2 separate regions of the Homo sapiens genome follow, and region 2 is linked to region 1. The links are contacts of gene promoters, found by promoter capture Hi-C in human tissues and cell types (Jung and others, 2019). All regions are on one chromosome and are shown on one strand. Each heading gives the region's core, a stretch centred on a gene start or on the middle of the fragment in contact. The rest is flanking DNA. Distances are from core to core; before and after follow the strand shown.

Evidence for each region. The method cuts DNA at HindIII sites, captures the fragments that hold promoters and counts their contacts. A contact is called where the count stands out against the background at its distance.
Region 2: a contact is called between a fragment that was not itself captured here and the fragment with the promoter of KCNJ9 in region 1, in 1 of the 25 tissues and cell types used here (aorta).

Annotation. Positions count from the first base shown.
Region 1 is chr1:160,079,279-160,083,324 of GRCh38, reverse strand. It overlaps KCNJ9 (potassium inwardly rectifying channel subfamily J member 9), which reads right to left and starts at 1,787. Exons shown (of 3, transcript NM_004983.3): 1 at 1,628-1,787. The HindIII fragment of the contact is 10,034 bases long and covers 1-4,046 here.
Region 2 is chr1:160,218,195-160,222,303 of GRCh38, reverse strand. It overlaps DCAF8 (DDB1 and CUL4 associated factor 8), which reads left to right. Exons shown (of 14, transcript NM_015726.4): 12 at 3,336-3,455; 13 at 3,864-3,980. Among named protein-coding and RNA genes, the nearest start is that of PEA15-AS1, 11 kb to the right of the region's middle. The HindIII fragment of the contact is 5,386 bases long and covers 1-4,109 here.

The DNA of each region.
Region 1 (4,046 bases), core at 538-3,037:
TGAAAGCTGTGGAAAGTCAGTGGAAACCCTCCAGTGCACAAGGGTGGAACATTAGGAAATTCCCACTAGAAATCCTCCCTGAGACCTACCCACGATCACTGCTGCTCTTGGGCCAGCCTCATTTCCCTTGGGTTTTTTCTCCTAGTGGAGACAGCCTGCAAATGGGGAGGGGAACTGGAAGATCCCAACACAGAAGCCTGGGAAAGGAAGCCCAGAGTTATAAAGAGTTAGGCTCGTATCCCTCTGGGATCCTATTCTTCATGAGAGACATGGAATCAGATCAGGTGAAGCACTAAGCACCCACATTTATTTCCCCACTCCCTCTAGTTATATTTTCCCCCAGCCTCTTACTTCCCATGGACTATCCTAACACCAGCCCCGCCCCCACCTGCCATATGCCCCAAAGCCCACATTCCAAGCGAAGCCCACCTGATTTTTCTTCACATGCTTGCCTCTGAGGAGCTCTCTGAGCTGCAATCTGCTCTGAGAGAGGTCCAGAGCCCTTCCCCAAAGCACCCAGGGTCCTCTAGGAGATATGGACCATACAGGGAAAGGTTTAGAATAGGATTTGGGACTCTTCCACCTTCCCTTCTCTTTCCTGGGAATGATCCTCTCCTCCCACTCCACGGAAACGTGGGCTGGCTAGTGGGTGGGGGATGGAGGAGTGTGCCATAGGAACCACAGATGGCCTGGATGGTTGACCAGGTCCTGGGGAGAAACTGCCTGGGTATGTGACTCTAAACCTAGCACTCCAGCATCTTATGTTCTGGGGTGAGGTCCTCTGCAGTCAGCACTCTGGAGAGGGTGTGTGTGTGTGTGTTTGTGTGTCTTGGGGTAGAGAAGGTAGGAAGAGAAATCAAAATGAAATGGCTTTGAGCTTAGGGGCACCCCCTGCATTTATTGTCCATGGAGTCAGGGGACACAGGGTCCAAGAGCCCCATGGCAATGGAAGATTAGGGTTTCCCCTGCCCCCAACAATGGGCTTCCTTTTCCTTCCCTGAAGCTCAGATGTCCTCAGGAAGAGTAAGCATTGACTGGCTCAGAGACCCCAGGTCATGCAGAAAACGACCCTGCTCCCATTATCCTAGCTTTAGTCCCAGGTGGGCTTCCAGATGTTCTCTCAGGGTCTTAGGTAATCTGACCCCCAGTCGGCTTGCCTAGACAGATCTCTCTGCCCAGGGATGGGGAAGGAACCCCGATGTCGGATCACCCCCAGAACTCTCTCACTCTCCATTGCCCCAGGGATCTAGGTAAACCTTATTTTGAATGTGTCCCACATCCTGTCTTCCTGAGTGGGGGACTGCACTTTTCTCAGGGGAAGGAAAAGTGTGAAATTGTTACCTCTATCTCAAGATCAAGGACTTGATTTCTCCATCTTCCCTCCAAGAATTTCAGTTCCTCCAACCTACTCCTCATTTCTTGTGCATGCTATGACCCCTTTGCAGAAGATTGCAATACCACTTTTCCTGGGCCCCTCTTCCTCCCTCTAGAGAGCTGGGGAGTAAGGGGGCTCATTTTTTGGAAGGAGAGACCTGGTGAAAACTCCCCCAAGAACCAGCTCCTCCCAAACCCCCACTTGCCTTGGAAATAGGGGCCCAAACCCCAAGTCCCCCGCAACTCAACTCACAGCACGTGGAGAGGAGAGTAGCCGGCAGCAGAGACCCCTGGGGGGTGGCGTCCATGCCCCTGACACCGCCCCCCCCACGGGCCCCCCGAAGGGTGGGAGCCGCAGACACCGCTGTTTCTCCTAAATGTAGCGGCAGCTCTGACTAGGACTTGCTATCTGTGTCATCCCTACTTCCCAGGCTCCCCTGCTCCTCTCTTGTTTCCACGGCAACCAGTCTGGCGACAGCTCCAGAGCATCCCCCTCCCCTCCCCAGTCCTGGGTACCACTAGGGGTTGATCCAAACCACACGCCATAGCTATTTTTAGCCAAAGTCCCTCCTCCTGGACAACTCAGAGCTTGGCTCCTCACCCCCTCATAGGAAAAAAAAAAAAAGAAGAAGAAAGAAAAACAAAGCTGGCACGCTGGCTCTTTCCTAAGAAGCTCCTTCCTGGGGGAAAATACAAGCCCTCATGTATTTGAGAATAAGGTGCTAGGTTCCCTGGGGTTTCAGAGGGCCATCTGGTAGCTGGCAGCTCACCACCTTCAACATGGGTCTCTGCGTGCAGGTGCTGCTCTCAGGTCAGGCTGACCATCATGGTCTAGTTTTGGAGAGGCCATGGATCCAGAAGGCGGTAGCTAGAAGGAAAATAGATCTACTAAAGGAAGGGAGGCAGGGTCAGGGGTTCTAATTATTGCCACTGATTTGCACTGTGTCCCATAGGAGTCACTTCACTTCCCTGAGCCACAGTTATTCCATCTGTACCAGGGTGTGGACAAGAGCAAATATCCCCTTTCTGCCTGCTTCACAGAGTCAGCAGATCAAACGAAGAAAAAACAAACAAACAAAAACCAAAAAAACCACAAAGGGCTTTGAAATGTGTTTTATTCATAGCAAAAACCCTAGAAACAACCCAAATGTCCACCAGAGAGAAAAGCCTAGGTTAGGGCTTACTAAGTATTCACTCGGCAAACTTCTGCGGAGCCCAAGTGCCAGGCAGTGTGTTAGATGGGGTGGTTACAGAATGGGTGAGTCCCTGCCCACAAGGAGCTCATTAACCCAGGAGGGATAAAGACACACAAACACACAGTGGCTGCTGCTACTAATTCACTGAGCATGGGATATGAACGAGACACATGCCTCATGTCATCCCCATGGCAACTCTATAAGACAGGTGTTATTTTTCCCAGTTATAGATGAGGAAACTGAAACAGAGACATGTTAAGTAATTTATCGAATGTCACAGAGTTGGGCAGAGACAGGAGCCAAACTCCCACATCTGTATCACCTCATGCTTTGTAAATTGTTTTAAAAGAAGACTTCTTAAAGGGTAGTTTTAGATTCAGAGCAAAACTGAGAGGAAAGTTATAGAGATTTTCCGTATGCCCCCTGTCCCCACACATCCACCAGAATGGCACATTTGTTACAAGTGATGAAGCTACATTGACATCATAATCGCCCAAAGTCCATAGCTGACATTAGGGTTCACTTTTGGTGTTGTACACTCTGTGGGTTTGGACAAATATATAATGATGTGTATCCACCATTATAGTCTCATTGCTGTAAAAGTCCTCTATGCTCTGCCTAGTCAATCCCCCTTCCCTAACCCCTGGCAACAACTGCTCTTTTTCCTGTTTCCATAATTTTCCTTTTCCAGAATGTCATGTCGTTGGAATTGTACAATATGTAGCCATTTCAAATTGGCTTCTTTCACTTAGTAATGTAAATTTAAGGTTCCTCCATGTCTTTTCATGGCTTTGTAGTTCATTTCTTTTTGGCACTGAATAATATTCCATTTCAGGATGGCCATGGTTTATTTATCTATTTACCTACTGAAGGACATCTCGGTTGCTTTCAAGATTTGGCCATGATGAATACAGCTGCTATAAACATCCATCGGCAGATTTTCATGTGGACGTAAGTTTTCATCTCCTTTGGGTAGATACCAAGGAGCATGATTCCTGGATCGTATGGTAAGAGTATGTTTAGTTTTTTAGGAAACTGCCACACTTTCTTCCAAAGTAGCTGTACCATTTTGCATTCCCATCAGCCACGAATTCCTGTTCCTGTTGCTCCACATTCCTGCCAGCATTTGGTGTTGTCAGCCTTAGCCTAGTGTGCCTCAGTAATGTAATATCTGTGGAATATTAATATCATGGGTTACTGTAAAGCCATAATAATTGCTGTGTTTAAATATGTGAATGTGTATATAACACACTGTTACATAAAAAAGCAGAACCTAAAAATATTCTTAGAAATTGATCATGACTATATTGAAATAGCTTCAGGAACACTGATAAAAATCAGAACAAAATTTGGAGAAACAGAAATATCTTATTGTTTATTTTTCCCCAGGGAAATAATGAAGAGAAGAAAGTGGTTTACAAACGCAAAGTGTTGTTGCTGTTGTTATCAGTATTATTATATCCCAGATATGGATCT
Region 2 (4,109 bases), core at 1,229-3,728, 140 kb before region 1:
TTCTCCATGTCTCTTCCCTTTAAACTAAACTAAGTAGTGATCTTGGCTGGATCTTAGATTAGCAGATAAAAGCTATAAAGAGCATTTTTTGGACAGTTGGGAAAATTAGAATATGGTTTATACATTAGATAACATGGTATTCAATATTAAATTGATTTGATTACTTAGAATATTCTTGTACTTAAGAGATACATGTTGAAGTATTTAGGGGTGAAATGTCATGCGTACATTCAAATAGATAACAAACACATATACATGTGTACATATAAGGAGAACGCAAATGTGGCAATTGTTTTTTAGTAGCTGAGCAGTCTGCTTGCTGTATAACCCATGATCGTATCATAGTCTGCCTGGCCTTTGAGTTCTGCAGCCCTCTGTGGAGTTAGGGCAAAAAGGAAGAGTGAGAATCGAGTTAGGGAATGAAGAGCAATCAGCTCTTAAGATGTATCTGGTTAACCTTATCTTTTTTTTTTTTTTTTTTTTTTTGAGACCTAGAATTAGGAAGGAGTTCAATCGCTTTCTGTTACAAGGTTTTTGGACCACAGGAGATGGGAAAAACACAGTTTGGAAGACTAAATTATACTGATTGCCCAGAATAGTCTGGTTATCCAAGGCCTCTAAGGAATGACTGAGACAGCTAAGTCTCTCTTCCTTTTTATTCCTTCTTAGCTGTGGGGAACTTCAAAGAGCCTAGCCATCTCTTGATGAGGTTTTTTCAGAGAGTGGTTTTAGAATTTAGAATGGTTCTTTGCAATCAGGATCCCATTCCTTATGTTTTTCTTGCCCTGGTGAAAGGGTATTTCAAATTTTCTTCTGGTTTCCTCTAAATTTCAGGGACCTGGGACCTGCATAGATCTAGGGTTTTTATGGTTTGAATACAAATGGAGAGGAGTCTAGAAGTTCAAGGTGTGTCTCACTCTTCCCTGCTTCATTTCCAACTCTTCCATAGGTCCCCCTGTGTCATCTGCAGTGAACAAACCCAAAACACTTGAGTCTTAATGGGAATTATGCAATAGGCATTTAGAGAAAGGAAGTCAGAAGGGGCCAGTGAATTTTTTCTTGACATAAGCTATTGCCTTGCATTCTGTTCCAGAGAGATGCAGGGCTGAATGCCCTCTCCCAGGCCAGCATTTGTCCATTCTCCAAAAGCATTCTGCAGGCCAGTTTGCTTTTAGCTCAGCCAATGCCAGGGTTTGATGATTAACCCATTTGCCCAGGTGAGGAAGGCATCTACTTGGGATGGGTGGGCCCCAGGCCTAAGTTTTAGTGGTCCTAAGAGTAAATGAGTAGAATAAGAGATATAGAGGCTACCCCTGAAGCAAATTTCCTTACATATTCTTGTCTCTGTGTAAGCTGAATGATCGATGTGGTCTTTTACTTGGCTCCCTCTGCTCTGTTTTTTGGTCCTAATTTTCCAGCAGTGGGGGTTACCAGGCACTACTTTCAATGTAGTAGACTCAGCAGTTCTATATCATGCAAATTGTAAATGTAGAGTAGAATGTAATTGTAACGTAGAATGTTAGAACCAAAGATCTTAGAAGTTATTTTCTGCCTTGCCCAGATCTCCTGACTGATTTGAGGATCTTTTCTTTGTTCCCATTCAGCTTCACAGGGACAAGGGTTGGGGGTGGTATCAGAGGACAGCCCCTTAGTCTCCCAAGAGCACTTTGATGCTTGATCCCATTCTCTACATTCCCCCAGCCCAGTCATCTAAGGCCAGAGCTCTTTTCTCTGCTCAGGCATTATTGACAGGATAAGTCCTGGCATTCAGACAGGTCTGGTGAAGTGACCAGGTACTCTGGCCCAGAAGTTCTCTGTCGGCTCCCCCCGCAGGCTCCAATTCAGGTACTGTATGTTATTCTCTTGTTCCTCTTGCCACTGGCTTTTTCCTTAGTCTTAAGTTCCAAGGAATTGTTCCCCTGTGTTTTTTTATTTTCCTGACTTATTCAAGCAGAGCTAGCTCAGAGTACAGGTCTGTAACAAGGGCTTATTAGGAGATAGATGAAAAAGTGCAGGTTTGTATATGTAAGTTGTCCATTACTATAGATAGATACTATTCCAGGCATTGGACTTTAACTGCACTGCCTAAAAGAGCCCAAAGATAAACTTCACAATAGGCTGATATGTGGAATGGGAGGAGGAGATAAAGAACGGGGTTTCTGTTTTATTCATAAGCTCAGTCTTAGCTTCAGTCTTTTCTGAGCATTTGTTTATTTGTAAGATGGAAGTCAAAGTAAGTGGGAAGTCTGTAGGTCAGCTCTATTTTCCATGCCTGCCCTTGACTTCTCCTCAGCTGTTCTCTGCCTGTGCAGGTGAGGCAGCGGAGGTGGTTGGTCCAGAGAGAACTAAAAGAAGTTGTTTTCTTGGACTATAGGTCCAGCTGCAAGGCAGGGTGCCTTTCCTATGTGTTCCTCTTTTCACTAAAAGACTCAAAATGCTTTAGCAGCTAGATCTGGAACTAACTCTTCTGGATGGGGTAGGAACTTCCCTGCCCTTCCCTTAGGGAAGCTCATGTTTCCAAGTCAGACAGCAGGGGGCATTGGGTGCCTTTCGGACAGAAGGAAGCTGCCTAAGCTAGAAGGCCTGCCTGCTGGAGTTTATTTCTTTTGCCTTGTTCAGTGAATTTACCCAGAGGGTGGCTGAGATTGAGGCTTTGGGAGCCCCAAGAAGCTGCTTGGTTTTAATGTGCTGCCTTATAGCTGAGCCTGTTGTGCTCAGGGCAAGTAGTAGGATGTTCCCCCTGGGATGTGCAAGGTTCTCTCAAGCAGACATGAGCCTCCATCACTCCCACCACTCCCTGCAACTCAGCCTCCTCTTCTCAGCCTGTGCCTTCCTCCAGTTCTAGTAAACACTGCCAAATGAATATAGTTCTCCGACTCTTCTCTGGGGGTTCATTGGCAGCTGCTGCTTTCTTCATTTTTTAAAATTTATTTGCCACTTGGTGAAAGCCACTGAGATGGTTTTTTCCAGCCTTGGGCAAGTTGGAGCTTTGGAATCTGGAGTGAATGAGGTCATCTGGATTTCATTGTCTTCTTACGAAGCCAGCAGTAAGCTTGGGCAGTCCACTCACCCACCCCTAGGGCCATATCTGGGGATGAAGCCACCCCCGACCTATACATAGGAAATGATTGATGTGCCTGGTCTTATACCCAGTCTGTGTCTGGTTTCTCTACCCTCAGTGCCCTTTGGCTTAGGCTCAGGATGGGTGGGCCTCCCTTCCCCAGCAGCTGCCTCAGCCCTGATCAAGGGCAGTTATTTGGCTCAAGGTGAGTAGTGGTTTTTAAACCCTACTCCCACACACTGCTGAGTCTGTGTTTTCCTTTCTTCCTGACCAGGTAAACTGTCTTGAGCCCCACCCTCACCTGCCTGTGCTGGCAACCAGTGGCCTAGACCATGATGTGAAGATCTGGGCACCCACAGCTGAAGCTTCCACTGAGCTGACAGGGTTAAAAGATGTAAGTGGCTGACTGCAGAAGTTATTTTCTTTCTGCTTATCCACATACTGTTGATTCTTATTGTCATAGGGAGGAATAACTTGCTGCCCAGTTCTTTAAAGGCACTGCTCTAACACCCTCCCCCACATTCCTGTAATTTCCTCTGTAGGAATAGTCCTGCTCCAGGGGGCAGCTGTGAAGTGGCACTAATTTGTAATAGGATGGGGATAAGGAGCATCTTTAAGAATTATTCTGTATTAAAGCCTGCTACCTTTTCAGCAGCTGAACCTAGGGCATCATTTCCTAATCTAATGTAGCTCCACTTCAACTTAAGGGAAGCTTTTATTGGGATAGGAGATCAGCCTTCTTGATCAGGTCCCGGGTTCCTCTTCATTGCTGCCCCCTCTTCCCAACCTTTTTGGGTTCCAGGTGATTAAGAAGAACAAGCGGGAGCGGGATGAAGATAGCTTGCACCAAACTGACCTGTTTGATAGTCACATGCTGTGGTTCCTTATGCATCACCTGAGACAGAGACGCCATCACCGGGTAAGCTAGGGTTGGAAATGAATTCCCAAGGGAGTGACCCTTTTAAGAGGGCTAAAAAGTTCCAGAGTAGTGACTTCAAGCAGTAATCAGGTGATCTTGGTCGGATTTCCTATCCACTGTCCTCTGTCC